Regions from separate parts of the Homo sapiens genome. Here regions 1, 2 and 3 are each linked to region 4. Evidence: promoter capture Hi-C in 16 types of primary human blood cells and fetal thymus (Javierre and others, 2016). All regions are on one chromosome and are shown on one strand. The core of a region is centred on a gene start or on the middle of the fragment in contact, and the rest is flanking DNA. Distances in the headings are between cores, read along the strand shown.

Evidence for each region. The method cuts DNA at HindIII sites, captures the fragments that hold promoters and counts their contacts. A CHiCAGO score of 5 or more calls a contact.
Region 1: a contact is called between a fragment that was not itself captured here and the fragment with the promoter of FLT1 in region 4, in 4 of 17 cell types (M2 macrophages, M0 macrophages, M1 macrophages and 1 more). The highest score is 9.6, in M2 macrophages.
Region 2: a fragment that was not itself captured here is called in contact with the fragment with the promoter of FLT1 in region 4 in 2 of 17 cell types (endothelial precursors and M1 macrophages); the score reaches 5.7 in endothelial precursors.
Region 3: a fragment that was not itself captured here is called in contact with the fragment with the promoter of FLT1 in region 4 in 1 of 17 cell types (monocytes); the score reaches 8.0 in monocytes.

The regions. Positions count from the first base shown.
Region 1 is chr13:28,654,690-28,657,961 of GRCh38, reverse strand. No RefSeq gene overlaps it. Among named protein-coding and RNA genes, the nearest start is that of POMP, 2.8 kb to the left of the region's middle. The HindIII fragment of the contact is 460 bases long and covers 1,644-2,103 here.
Region 2 is chr13:28,303,360-28,306,874 of GRCh38, reverse strand. It overlaps FLT1 (fms related receptor tyrosine kinase 1), which reads left to right. Exons shown (of 30, transcript NM_002019.4): 29 at 103-197; 30 at 3,507-3,515. Among named protein-coding and RNA genes, the nearest start is that of PAN3-AS1, 170 kb to the right of the region's middle. The HindIII fragment of the contact is 1,575 bases long and covers 1,202-2,776 here.
Region 3 is chr13:28,359,257-28,362,426 of GRCh38, reverse strand. All of the region lies in intron 14 of FLT1 (fms related receptor tyrosine kinase 1), which reads left to right. Among named protein-coding and RNA genes, the nearest start is that of FLT1, 130 kb to the left of the region's middle. The HindIII fragment of the contact is 3,220 bases long and covers 91-3,170 here.
Region 4 is chr13:28,493,844-28,497,502 of GRCh38, reverse strand. FLT1 (fms related receptor tyrosine kinase 1) reads left to right here and starts at 2,375. Exons shown (of 30, transcript NM_002019.4): 1 at 2,375-2,723. The coding sequence starts at 2,660. RefSeq lists silencers at 2,470-2,519, 2,640-2,759, 2,840-2,889. The HindIII fragment of the contact is 4,512 bases long and covers 1-3,659 here.

The sequences.
Region 1 (3,272 bases), core at 624-3,123, 160 kb before region 4:
AGTAATGGGAACTACAGGCGTGCATCATGGGACCTAGCTACAGGTTTTTTATGCAGCCTTTGTAGGCAAGATTAAGGATGAGGCTTTGTCTTTAAAAAGCCATCGAAGGATTTGAGAGAGGAAAATGATAAGGCCATATATGTTATGTATATCCACTGCCATGGTCATACAACTTTGAAGTTCCAGATGTTATGTGTTCTGCCATGCTGTCCTTTAGGTGTCTTCTGGTCCTTCACAATAGCCATGTTTAATCCTGAGATTTGAGTTGGAGTGTTTCGTTTGCATCTTTTTTTCTTTCCGTCAATTCCACCTGAGAAATTGTAAAACTGCGAATCTTTTCTTAAAAATCATTTTAACATTTGCTGATTGCTCACAGTTCAATGAATATGTATTGAACATTTGCTTGGTACTAGATTCTGGAGCTATAAAGAAGAAAAGAGCAATTCCCTGTACCTGAGATGCTTATATATTTTCCTGGGGAAATAGACATGCAAACAGATATTTAAAATGCAGCATGGGCTGGGTGCAGTGGCTCACACCTGTAATCCTAGCACTTTGGGAGCTGGAAGCAGGCAGATCACTTGAGGTCAGTAGTTCGACACCAGCCTGGCCAACATGGCAAAAGCCCATCTCTACTAAAGATACAAAAAAAAAAATTAGCCAGACATCATGGTGCATGCTTGTAGTCCCAGCTATTCAGGAGACTGAGGCACGAGAGTCGCTTGAACCTGAGAGGTAGAGGTTGCAGTGAGCAGAGATCACGCCACTGCACTCCAGCCTAGGTGACACAGCAAGACTCCATCTCAAATAATAATAATAAAATAATAAAATGCAGTGTGATAAATGCTTGATAGAGAAAGGGGCTAAACCAGAAAGTTGTTGGGAGCAGGAGAAAACAGCATTCACGGAAGAGGAACATGTAAAGGCAAGAGATCTGTGAAAAGTCGTGTTGTTATCTGAGTAATGGAAAACATTTCCCTGTGGCTGGAGCTCTGGGTGAGCAGGTGAAGCAAAATGAGATGAGGTTGGAGGGACAGGTTGGGGCCAAAACGAAGGGCCTTCTATGGTATGCTGAGGTTTAGGGCTTTTTCTTATAGACAACAGGAGATAATGGAGGTCTTTTCACAAACATTTGGCATTAAAAAAAAAAAATTCTGGTGGCAGCATGAAGGACAGACTAAGATTGGGAGAAAGTAGGAACCAGGATACCATTTAAGCCACTAATGGTACGCTAAGGTAGTGTCACATACTGGAAAGGCTTTGAAAGGAAGGAAAAAGTAGGAGTGAACCTAAGAAATACCAGAATTCAAAAGACAGCCAGAAGAAGGGGAGCCTGCTTTAAAGGCTATGCCATCTTCGAATCAAAAGGGCAAGGAAGTATTGAGAGGTTAGAAAGTAGTTCAAAAGTAGCTAAAAAGGGATCATAAAGCCCTGAAAATAGGCTTTTGGTGACCAGTGTGAAGAGTTGTTTTAGTGGCTCAGCAAGGAGAAAATTCCCTTTATTTTGAGTCTTACACTCAAGTTTATGTCCTATTTTAAATGGTTTGTTACAGTATTAACTAATACGGGGTACTTTTGAGTATGCTAAATAAGAAGTAAATTAGATTTGATGCTGGAATGATTTAATTATGTTTACTTAAGCTTTATGTTAAATAGCTTAGAGGATAGAACATTAGTAATGATAGCTAACATTTGTTACATGTCAGGCCAGGGTTTAGTTTTTTGCATATATTGTTTCAATTAATCCTGTGAGGTAGATACTATCATTATGCACATTTCACAGAAAATGCTGAGGCATTGTATGAGAACAAGCACCCTATTTTGTTTTACTTTTTGTAGTCGTCTTTGACTTTACTCTTAAGTCAGTCTGGTGACATAGCTAGGTAAACTGAGGACAAATTCAGCTTCATTCACATCTGGCAAGAACCCTCCTCCCTCCTCCTAGCTCTTTCCCCATTTGTTACCTCATCTGTCTCCTGTTTGGGTACTATTCTTGTACTTCATCTTGTCAGCTGAATTTGGGTCTTCTGACCTAAATTTTAGTGCTCCCTAACGATCTAAAATTACACTTAACTTTGCTCTTTTCTGTTATTTGCCTAAGCTTGGCCCTGGGCACCCAAACCCTATTACCCAGCCTGCTTGGTTAGCCCCCTCTTAAAAGCTGCTTTGTCTCCACAGCACAGTGCCTTGCATACTTTAGGCAGGTACTCAGCAGGATTTTGAAATCTAGTATGTAGTGAGTGTCTCTTTAGAACTTAAGAAGCTGGAAGAGGCATAGAGAAGAGAGGTCTGAAAATGTCTCAGAGCTAAGGAAGATACGATGTTGAGATAAGGGAATGACCAGTGATGTCAGATAATGATTATGGGAAGATCGATGGGGTTTGGCAAATGGGATGTCATTTGCATAATCTTCTGGTGAGCAGTTTAACTATAAACCAGATTGTTAGGAATGAAGAATTTATAAGAAGAAAATGGAGGCAGCCAAATTTTATAGATCATTCTTTTCAGAAAGTTGTCCATTTCAAAAAATAGAATCAGGATTTTGGTTTGAATGAAAGTTGGGTTTTGTTTTTGTTTCATGTGCATGATTGGACAGACCAAAGTTTGTTAGGCAGATGTTAGAAAGAGTTGGTGAAGGGGCAAGAGTGAAGACAGCAGGGAAGAGAAGCAGCAAGAAGGAATGATTGAGATAATGATCTCTCAGATGCCCAGAACAGTTGTGAGAGGGAATCAAGGACAAAGATGCAGCTGTTAGAAAAAGGAGGCAGGCCCAGGCGCAGAGACTCACTCCTGTAATCCTAGCACTTTGGGAGGCTGAGGCAGGTGGATCACCTGAGGTCAGGAGTTCAAGACCAGCCTGGCCAACATGGTGAAACCCTGTGTCTACTAAAAATATAAAATTAGCTGGGCATGGTGGTGCACGCCTGTAATCCCAGCTACTCGGGAGGCTGAGGCAGGAGAATCACTTGAACCCAGGAGGTGGAGGTTGCAGTGAGCCGAGATGGTGCCACTGCACTCCAGCCTGGGCGACAGAGCGAGACCCTGTCTCAAAAAAAAAAAAAAAAAAAAAAAAAATTATGCTTCCCTACAAGGCTAGGGGTGGAGGAGTAGTTCATATAAGGGTAGTGGTATTATACAAATCTTAAACAATAAGAAAATTACTAGGTTTTCGAGGGCCTGAAAAGAATCTATAAGTTATAAAAAATATATCCAGATCTTCTTTAAATGATTTAAATTCTTACAGTGTTGGGAAGGGTTCAATATGCATAATT
Region 2 (3,515 bases), core at 740-3,239, 190 kb after region 4:
CAGAGCCTGGATCAACAGATGTATCCCAGGATCATCCCTCAGGCTCAGCATGGACCCCCGCTGGGCCAGGCAAGAGTATAACCTTTCTCCTTCTCCCCCTAGGACTACCAGGGCGACAGCAGCACTCTGTTGGCCTCTCCCATGCTGAAGCGCTTCACCTGGACTGACAGCAAACCCAAGGCCTCGCTCAAGATTGAGTAAGAATTGGGTATCTTTTCTGTGATCAGTTGATGGAGGGGTACGAGGGGAGATGCTGGGGGAAGGTGGTATAATGAGGGATGTTTGAGGACTACTTGCCCTCCTGAACTGTGGTATCCGGGAGTTGCAGAAAACCATTTCCCCCCAGAGGGCAAAAAAAGGGGAACATCAAACGGGACATATGAGCAGCAAGCTCTGGGGAAAACATGCAGAAAATCTTGCAAAGACAGGCAGTCCAGATGTGGCCAGCACAGTGCCTCAGGTGAAAGAAGCCTGATGTGCCCACCTATGCGTGGTGCAGACAGAGACACGCTCCCGGCGGTGGGAGAGGATGCCCCCGCTGTCACTCCCTATGCCGGCAGGGTTCATACACGAGGAGACACAGTACTGTTTTCCGGGGCTAAGACCTGTACCCTGAGAGCTCAGCCCCTACAGATGAATGACTTTCCCATTTCATCCTGGCACCCTTTTCTCACTTGACAATTTCTCCACAAAGCCCTGGCTTGTAGTCCACCAGCTCCTCCCTCCACGCCGTGGCCACCACTGGGGAGTCCTTGCCTTATGCACCACCGAATGCCACTGCAGCTTCTCTGTGCGAGTCTCTACCTTGCAATGGTGCTGGACTGGGAAAAGCTGCACCTGTCGGATGTTCCTTCCTTTCCTCATTCAAATGCCTGTCCCTGTCTCACCCGAAGGCAGAACCTTTTCCTCTTTCACCTAAATCCGGGGTAGGCAGCCATTTTTTTAAAGGGCTAGATAGTCAGCAAATGCTCCCTACTGCCATTAGCAGGGGTGTCCAATCTTTTGACTTCCCTGGGCCACAATGGAAGAATAATTATCTTGGGTCACACATGAAATACACGGACACTGACAATCGCTGGTAAGCTAAAAAAGTTGCAAAAAAATCTCAGAATGTTTTAAGAAAGTTTACGAGTTTGTGTTGGGCTGCACTCAAAGCCATCCTGGGATTCATGCAGCCCGTGGGCCACAAGTTGGGCAAGCTTGCATTATAGTATAAAAAGCAACCGTAGACAATACATCATCAAGTAGGCATGGCTCTGTTCCCACACACTGTATTTACAGAAACAGGTGGGCATGGCCAGTGAGTACACGAAAAGATGCTCAACATCATCAGTCATTAGGGAAATACAAATCAAGACTACCATGAGGGGCTGGGTGTGGTGGCTCATGCAGTAGTCTCAACACTTTGGGAGGCTGAGGTGGGTGGATCACTTGAGCCCGGGAGCAACATGGCAAAACCCTTTCTCTACTAAAACTACAGAAATTAGCCGGGGTGTGCTGGCATGTGCCTGTAGTCCCAGCTACTTGGGAGGCTGGGGTGGGAGGATCACTTGAGCTTGGGAGGTTGAGGCTGCAGTGAGCCACAATTGCACCACTACACTCTAGCCTGGGTGACAGAGGGAGAAAAAAGGGAAAGAAATTACCATAAGATACCACTTTACGCCCATGAGGATAGCTAGATGAAGTCAGTGTGGCGAGGATATGGAGAAATTGGAACCCTCATACACTGCTGGTGGAAATGTAAAATGGGGCAGTCACTTTGGAAAACAGTTTAGCTGTTGCCCATAAGGTTAAACAGTTATCCCGAGACTCAGCAATTCAACTCCTAGGCATATACTCAAGAGAAATGAAAACTGATGTCCACAGCAAAACTTGCACACAGATGTTCATAGCAGCATTATTCATGATAGCCAAAAGTAGAAACAACCTAAATATCCATCAGTTGATGACTCAATGAATAAAGTATGGTATATCCACACAATATAATATTGTCAATAAAAAGTGTGAAGTATGCATGCATGCTACAATATGGATGAACCTTGAAAATATTATGCTAAGTAAAAGAAGCCAGTCATAAAATATTTCCTATTGCATGATTCCTTTTACATGAAATGCCCAGAATTGGTAAATCTAGAGACAGAAAGTAGACCAGTAGTTTCCTTGGGCTGGGGCTGGAGGGCGTGAGGAAGAAAGACTGCTAACAGGTGTGCGTTTTGGGGGATGATGACAACGCTCTAAAGTTGATTATGGTGATGGTTGCACAATTTGTGTCTATACAAAAAACCATTGGCTTACACATTTTAAATAGGCGAATTATGCACTATGTAAATTATATCTCCATAAAGCTCTCATTAAAAAAAAAAACACCAGACAGGTGGGCAGATATGGGTTATAGTTTTTGAACCCTGATCTAAATCAAAGGATGGCAACAAGTGCCTCCAAGTGATGTAGTTAGCACAACTCATCGGCCACAAGTAAATGGGAAAGACAGGGGCATTTCCAGGCAAACATCTGCGTGTGTGTTTCCTTTTCACATGAGCACAGTGGTATTAGAATTGAGTTACAGTAGATCAGAGGCACCAATGAGGAATGAATGGATCAAAGGGGAAGGTAGGATACTTGCTCTTTTGTTTCCTACTTTGGAACACTTCAGAAAATGGGTGGTGACTAATTTTATCTAGATATTTGTTAAAGAAGACCATAAATTGTATCCTCTACTCTGAGACTGAAAATATAGAACATGGACACGTTAGTCCAGACCGGTCTAAAACAAGCTTCACGGGTTCCCTGCCTCATCCCAGATCCTTTGAAAATAAAAAATTTGAACGAATATTAAAGGGCAAGAGCAGCGCTTCTTCCTCAGGTGTCTGTCCTAGTCTGGATGTAACACAGAGGACCCAGAAGCAAGTTTCTCCACCCTTGAGCCTTGCTGGTGATAAGCAGCACCGTGACTAAAACGTTTCCTCTTCTAGAACACAGGCACGACAGGCAGAGAGGCACTCACTTGTGTGTGTGGAGCTTTATTGTTTTTTGAGACTGTTGTAACAAGTTACCACTAACTTGGCAACTTACAAGAGAAATTTATTCTCTTGCAGTTCTGGAGGCCAGAAGGGATATAAAATATGAAAAATTTGAATATTTTGGAGGGTAGGAGGCATTTCTCAGCCTACCACAGAAGCTGTTTGACCCAAGAATAGGAGAGGGCTGCACCCAAGTCTTGGAGTTACTTTCCACCTGGATTATGGATTTGCGTTATCTTATCATACATTTCATACCCTCCCCCAGCCACTGTCTTTCTGCCCAATGACACCAAGCTGTTAAGAGGGAGGCCGTGTGCAGCTTTAGAACAGAGGAAATCTGACAGCAATTGAGGGGGGGGGGGTTCCAAAACCATGAACTCTAGACAGGTATGAACAAATGACCCACTCAGAAAGAGTAGATTTTAGTGTCTTTGTTTTCTAAAAAACCAATTTTGAATATTTGATTTCTTTCCTTTCTTTCTTTAGCTTGAGAGT
Region 3 (3,170 bases), core at 451-2,950, 130 kb after region 4:
ATAAATGTTCATTGACCCGGAGCAACTGTACAGCCACACTTTTATTTTCTGTGATTGCCACTTGTACTATATCTTATACTTCTCAAAGCTTCAATGCTTCCATTTAAGCTATCTCAATTGATCATGAAATAGGTGGAGCAGGTATTATTCTCATTTTACAGGTAAGGAACTTGCCCCAAAAAGATTAAGTGACTTAGCCAAGGTTATGGGGAAGAGCTGTCATTTTTTCCCTGTTATCTGGGTTTAAAATATTGGAATCACCTTGGACTCATCTCTCTCTTTTTCTATTGCTGTATCCAGTAAAGCACCAATTCCTATAGGTTGTTTCTACAAAGTATCTGTTTCCATTTCTTCCTCTCTACTTCCTTTCCCACCATCCAGATTTGAGACCTCATCATTCCTTGCCTGAATTACAACTGATGAGCAGGACTTGCAGATGCTATGCTTTCCTCATTCCAGTCCAGCTGTATTCTCCTTCTAGACTGAACGTCCTTAAATGTCGCTTTCACTATGCTCAAAAATCTTTGTGATTCTCTTTCCTTCTACATGGAATTGAAACTCCTCAACCAAGATTTCAAAGCTCTCCTTAATCTGAATTCACCTTTTCCAGTCACCTACTCAAAACAGGTCTTTTGAAATAAAAATGGCTAATACACACATGAAAAAATGTTCAAAGAAATACAAATTAAAACAATCATTTTCATCTATCAAATCAGCAAAGTTTTGTGTTTTTAATTTTTTAGACGATACTGCTCATCCTCCACTCTTGCTATTTATTTCCTTTCTTACAAAAATAAGCAAGTTATTACCCTTATAATTTGTCTCCATCCCTCAGATCTTTTGTTCATACTTAATTCATTGTTGTCTCCTCTGGTTTCTCTAATACCTTAATCTGTTGATACTCACTTTGTAATTCTCCAAAACTAGAATTTGTAGGCAAGGATTTCTTCTGCTTGATAGTGTATCACCAGTATCTAGAATAGTGTCTAGTACGTAGTAGGAGCTCAAAAAATATTTGTTATATAAATGAACAAACTGTGTTTTCAGAAAGTACACTTTAGAAAGACTAAAGAAACAACATCTGGGAGGTGAGATTGTAGGTGTTTGGAGTTTGTGTGTTTTTTACATTTCTTTTTTTTTTGTTTTTTGAGATGGAGTCTTGCTCTGTCACCCAGGCTGGAGTGCAGGGGCACCATCTTGGCTCACTCCAAGCTCTGCCTCCCGGCTTCAAGCAATTCTTCTGCCTCAGCCTCCCGAGTAGCTGGGACTACCGGCATGAGCCACCACGCCCGGCTAATTTTTGTATTTTTAGTAGAGACGGGGTGTCACCATATTGGATAGGCTGGTCTCGAATTCCTAGACCTCATGATCCACCCACCTCGGCCTCCCACAAGTGCTGGGATTACAGGCATGAGCCACCGTGCCCGGCCTTTTCCATTTCTTTAATTGGCAAATAATAATAATTATATATATGCATGGGGTACAGTGTGATGTTTTAATATTAATACATGTATACAATGGGAAGGATCAAATAAGCCTGATTAGCATACCCATCAGCTCAAATATCATTTCTTTGTGGTGGGAACACTTAAAATCCTCTTTTAGCTATTTTGAAATGTGCATTATTTTTAGCTGTTGTCACTTTGCTGTGTAATAGAATGCCAGAACATATTCCTCTTATCTAACTGTAACTTTGTACCCAGTGACCAATATCTTCCCTGTCCGTATCCAACTCTCCCCACCCCAGCCTGTGGTAACCATCACTCTACTCTCTACATCTATGAGTTCAACTTTTTTAGATTCCACATATAAGTGAAATCATGCAGCATTTGTCTCTCAGTGCCTGGCTTATTTCGCTCAACATAATGTCCTCTAGGTTCATCCATATTGTCATAAATGACAGAATTTCCTGTTATTTTTTAAGGCTGTAGTATTCCATTGTATATATACACCAAATTTTAAAAATCTATTCATCCATTGATGGACACATAGGTTGCCTCCATATCTTGGCTATTGTGAATAATGCTGCAATAAACATGGGAATGCAGACATCTCTTCAGCATCCTTGATTTCAATTTCTTTGGGTAGATACCCAGTAGTGGGATTGCTAGATCATATAGCAGTTTTCTTTTTAGTTGTTTGAGAGGCTCCATATGGTTTTCCAAAATGGCCGTAACAATTTATAATGCCACCAACCGTGTATAAGGGTTCCCTTCTTTCCACATCCTCATCAACACTTGTGATCTTTTATCTTTTTAATAATAGCTAATCTAATAGGTGTGAGGTGCTATCTCATTTGGTTTTTTTCTTGTTTTTTGAGACAAAGTCTCGCTCTGTCACCCAGGCCGGAGTGCAGTGGCACGATCTCGCTCACTGCAACCTCTGCCTCCCCAGTTCAAGTGATTCTCCTGCTGCAGCCTCCCAAGTAGTTAGGATTACAGGCATTCGCCACCACACCCCGCTAATTTTTGTATTTTTAGTAGAGACTGGGTTTCATCATGTTGGCGAGGCTGGTCTTGAACTCTTGACCTCAGATGATCTGCCCACCTCGGCCTCCCAAAGTGCTGGGATTACAGGCATGAGCCACTGCACCTGGCCTCATTTGGTTTTGATTTACATTTTTGTGATTGGAGATGGTGAGTATTTTTTTCATATAACTGTTGGCCATCTGTCTTCTTTTGAAAAATGTCTATTTGATTTCTTTGCCCATTTTTAAATAGGATTATTGGTTTCCTTGTTATTGAGTAGTTTGAGTTCCTTGTATATTTTGGATATTGGCTCCTTATCTGATGTATGATTTGCAAATACTTTTTCCCAATCTGTAGGTTGTCTCTTCACTCTATTAATTGTTTCCTTTGCTGTGCAAAAGGTTTTTAGTTTGATGCAATCCCATTTGCCTATTTTTGCTTTCGTTGCCTGTGCTTTTGGGGTCATATCCAAGAAATCTCTTCCCAGACCAATATCGTGGAGTTTTTCCCCCACATTTTCTTCTAGTAGTTTTATAGTTTCTGGTCTTACATTTAAGTTTTTAATCCATATTGAGTTCATTTTTATATAAGGGATGAGAGAAGGGTCCATTTTCATTTTTCTGTATGTAGATATCCAGTTTTCCCAACACCACTTATTAAGGAGACTGTCCTTTCCCCATTGTGTGTTCTTGGCACCTTGTC
Region 4 (3,659 bases), core at 1,126-3,625:
GAGAGTGCTATAGCCCATTCTCATTCAAAGGTATTATCTCTTTTGGGGAGAGGATTGGGAGCTATACATTTATTCCCCATATCTAAGCTAAAATTTGTAGCATTTTTGAGTTCTTTGTGAGAACGCTAATGCAACTAACAAAGAAGTCATAGTCAATAAATTGCTGACTCTAATTAAAAGCAACTTTTCAAAAGAGTAGTTGGGAAATGTGGAAGCCCACCCTTACTGCAGCATAGTTTTAATATAAATCTTAGATTCGACTGTGACTCTACTAACCTTAAATAATTGAGCAACATGTTAATATCATTGATTAGCATCTTAGATTATAAAGATTGTTTCAGCTGTCCATCAAATACCTGTTCTGGCTTTACAGACACAATGTAGATTCATTGCTGGCAGCAGGTTTGGAAAGTGTTGTCTCTTTATGAGTTAAAAATATCAAAATGGCATTTGAAAAAATGTATTAGCAAATTAAACCTTTGTACATGGTACTATGGACCACTTTCCCCCAGAGTCAAATGTGTGTCTCTCCTGAGAAGCCCTCCTTGGGTTTTCCCTGCCAATAAATGTGCCTTTACTTCTCTGAGCTGATGGAGGACTAAACACCCCTCCAGCACTGGAATGCCGGTCCTGCAGCCACTTCAAGTGTCCACCTTCTTATCACAGTCCAAGCCCTTTAGAAGGCAAAGATGATGGCTCTCCATCAGTGTTTTCAGCCCTAACCCAATGCCTGGCCCCTGTTGAATGCTGCAGAAGGACAATGCTGACAGCTTCTCCTTGAAAGAGGGTGTGGGAGTGACAAGCAGCTCTCAGGTGAGACCAACAGACACTGTGGCTCCGCACGTATGTCCCAGGCTGTGTTCTGGGCTGGGGGACCAGCAAGGAGAAGGATCAGCTGTCCGCTTCCAGCTGTTCTGAGGGATGATGCTGTGGGTTTTAGAGGAGGCAGGGGTGCGGGAGGCAGAGAAAGGCGCCAGGAAGAGTGGTGAGGAGAACTGGAAAAACAGAAAGCGCTGGTGAAGCCAGCAGGCAAGCAATGACTCCGGCAGTCTTCCTTGCCTCTGAAGCAGAAGGGATCCAGGGACAGTTAGTGGCTCAGGTCCTGCGGCTCCAGGTGCCCAGACGTGCATTTCCTGTGTGGAGTGGCCGGGGCCTCTCCTTGGTGTGCAGCCCAGAAATGTGGCAACTTTGGGTTACCCAACCTTCCTAGGCGGGGAGGTAGTCCAGTCCTTCAGGAAGAGTCTCTGGCTCCGTTCAAGAGCCATCACAGTCCCTTGTATTACATCCCTCTGACGGGTTCCAATAGGACTATTTTTCAAATCTGCGGTATTTACAGAGACAAGACTGGGCTGCTCCGTGCAGCCAGGACGACTTCAGCCTTTGAGGTAATGGAGACATAATTGAGGAACAACGTGGAATTAGTGTCATAGCAAATGATCTAGGGCCTCAAGTTAATTTCAGCCGGTTGTGGTCAGAGTCACTCATCTTGAGTAGCAAGCTGCCACCAGAAAGATTTCTTTTTCGAGCATTTAGGGAATAAAGTTCAAGTGCCCTGCGCTTCCAAGTTGCAGGAGCAGTTTCACGCCTCAGCTTTTTAAAGGTATCATAATGTTATTCCTTGTTTTGCTTCTAGGAAGCAGAAGACTGAGGAAATGACTTGGGCGGGTGCATCAATGCGGCCGAAAAAGACACGGACACGCTCCCCTGGGACCTGAGCTGGTTCGCAGTCTTCCCAAAGGTGCCAAGCAAGCGTCAGTTCCCCTCAGGCGCTCCAGGTTCAGTGCCTTGTGCCGAGGGTCTCCGGTGCCTTCCTAGACTTCTCGGGACAGTCTGAAGGGGTCAGGAGCGGCGGGACAGCGCGGGAAGAGCAGGCAAGGGGAGACAGCCGGACTGCGCCTCAGTCCTCCGTGCCAAGAACACCGTCGCGGAGGCGCGGCCAGCTTCCCTTGGATCGGACTTTCCGCCCCTAGGGCCAGGCGGCGGAGCTTCAGCCTTGTCCCTTCCCCAGTTTCGGGCGGCCCCCAGAGCTGAGTAAGCCGGGTGGAGGGAGTCTGCAAGGATTTCCTGAGCGCGATGGGCAGGAGGAGGGGCAAGGGCAAGAGGGCGCGGAGCAAAGACCCTGAACCTGCCGGGGCCGCGCTCCCGGGCCCGCGTCGCCAGCACCTCCCCACGCGCGCTCGGCCCCGGGCCACCCGCCCTCGTCGGCCCCCGCCCCTCTCCGTAGCCGCAGGGAAGCGAGCCTGGGAGGAAGAAGAGGGTAGGTGGGGAGGCGGATGAGGGGTGGGGGACCCCTTGACGTCACCAGAAGGAGGTGCCGGGGTAGGAAGTGGGCTGGGGAAAGGTTATAAATCGCCCCCGCCCTCGGCTGCTCTTCATCGAGGTCCGCGGGAGGCTCGGAGCGCGCCAGGCGGACACTCCTCTCGGCTCCTCCCCGGCAGCGGCGGCGGCTCGGAGCGGGCTCCGGGGCTCGGGTGCAGCGGCCAGCGGGCGCCTGGCGGCGAGGATTACCCGGGGAAGTGGTTGTCTCCTGGCTGGAGCCGCGAGACGGGCGCTCAGGGCGCGGGGCCGGCGGCGGCGAACGAGAGGACGGACTCTGGCGGCCGGGTCGTTGGCCGCGGGGAGCGCGGGCACCGGGCGAGCAGGCCGCGTCGCGCTCACCATGGTCAGCTACTGGGACACCGGGGTCCTGCTGTGCGCGCTGCTCAGCTGTCTGCTTCTCACAGGTGAGGCGCGGCTGGGGGCCGGGGCCTGAGGCGGGCTGCGATGGGGCGGCCGGAGGGCAGAGCCTCCGAGGCCAGGGCGGGGTGCACGCGGGGAGACGAGGCTGTAGCCCGGAGAAGCTGGCTACGGCGAGAACCTGGGACACTAGTTGCAGCGGGCACGCTTGGGGCCGCTGCGCCCTTTCTCCGAGGGAGCGCCTCGAGGAGTGGCTGGCCTGGACCCGCGAGCATCAGCGCTCAGACCGGGTCCGCGCTGGGGCTGTCCGTTTGCGACAGGATCGCTGATCCCTTATCCAGCTGTCGGGTTGGGGTCTCACTGCCGAGGCCCTGGGCACTAGGAGCAGCACGCACCGGGACCTGCCTGGCACCCAGAGCCCATTCCCAGAGGACCTGGGGCAGGTACGCAGGGTCCCCCGGAGCCGGGAGCAGAGGCTCCTGAAAGCCTGCCAGGCTGCCCGGGGCTGGGCTGAGGCCGGGACTTTGGTGATATTGGGCACTGGCCGCGACCTCGCGTCACGAGAGTGTAGGAGGGGAGCCGATTTGGAGGGGACTCGTGCCTGCGGGGGAGCAGGAGGATCTCAGGAGAGGGCCAGCGCCGGCATCCCATGACCCGCTTGAGTCCCCAAGCCGGACTGTCCCGGGGAACGCTCGGCGAGCGCCCGCTCCTCCCCGCCGCTCTCGGACCGCGGGGCCCCAGTGCGCTGCGCTCAGCCACCCGGGTGGGGCCTCTGCCGGGAGCAGGCGTGGTGCGCGGTCCAGTCCGTGTCGCGGACATCAGTGACCCTGACCCACAAGGGCAGCCCAGGGCCCAAATACCGTTAACTTACTGACTTACAAGCCTAGCCTTTAAAATCCGAGCGAAGAGAGGGCGGGCGATTTTGACCAAACGATGTGGTTTGAGGAATCGATGAGGTCCGCCCGCCACCTAAGTCAGCCTTC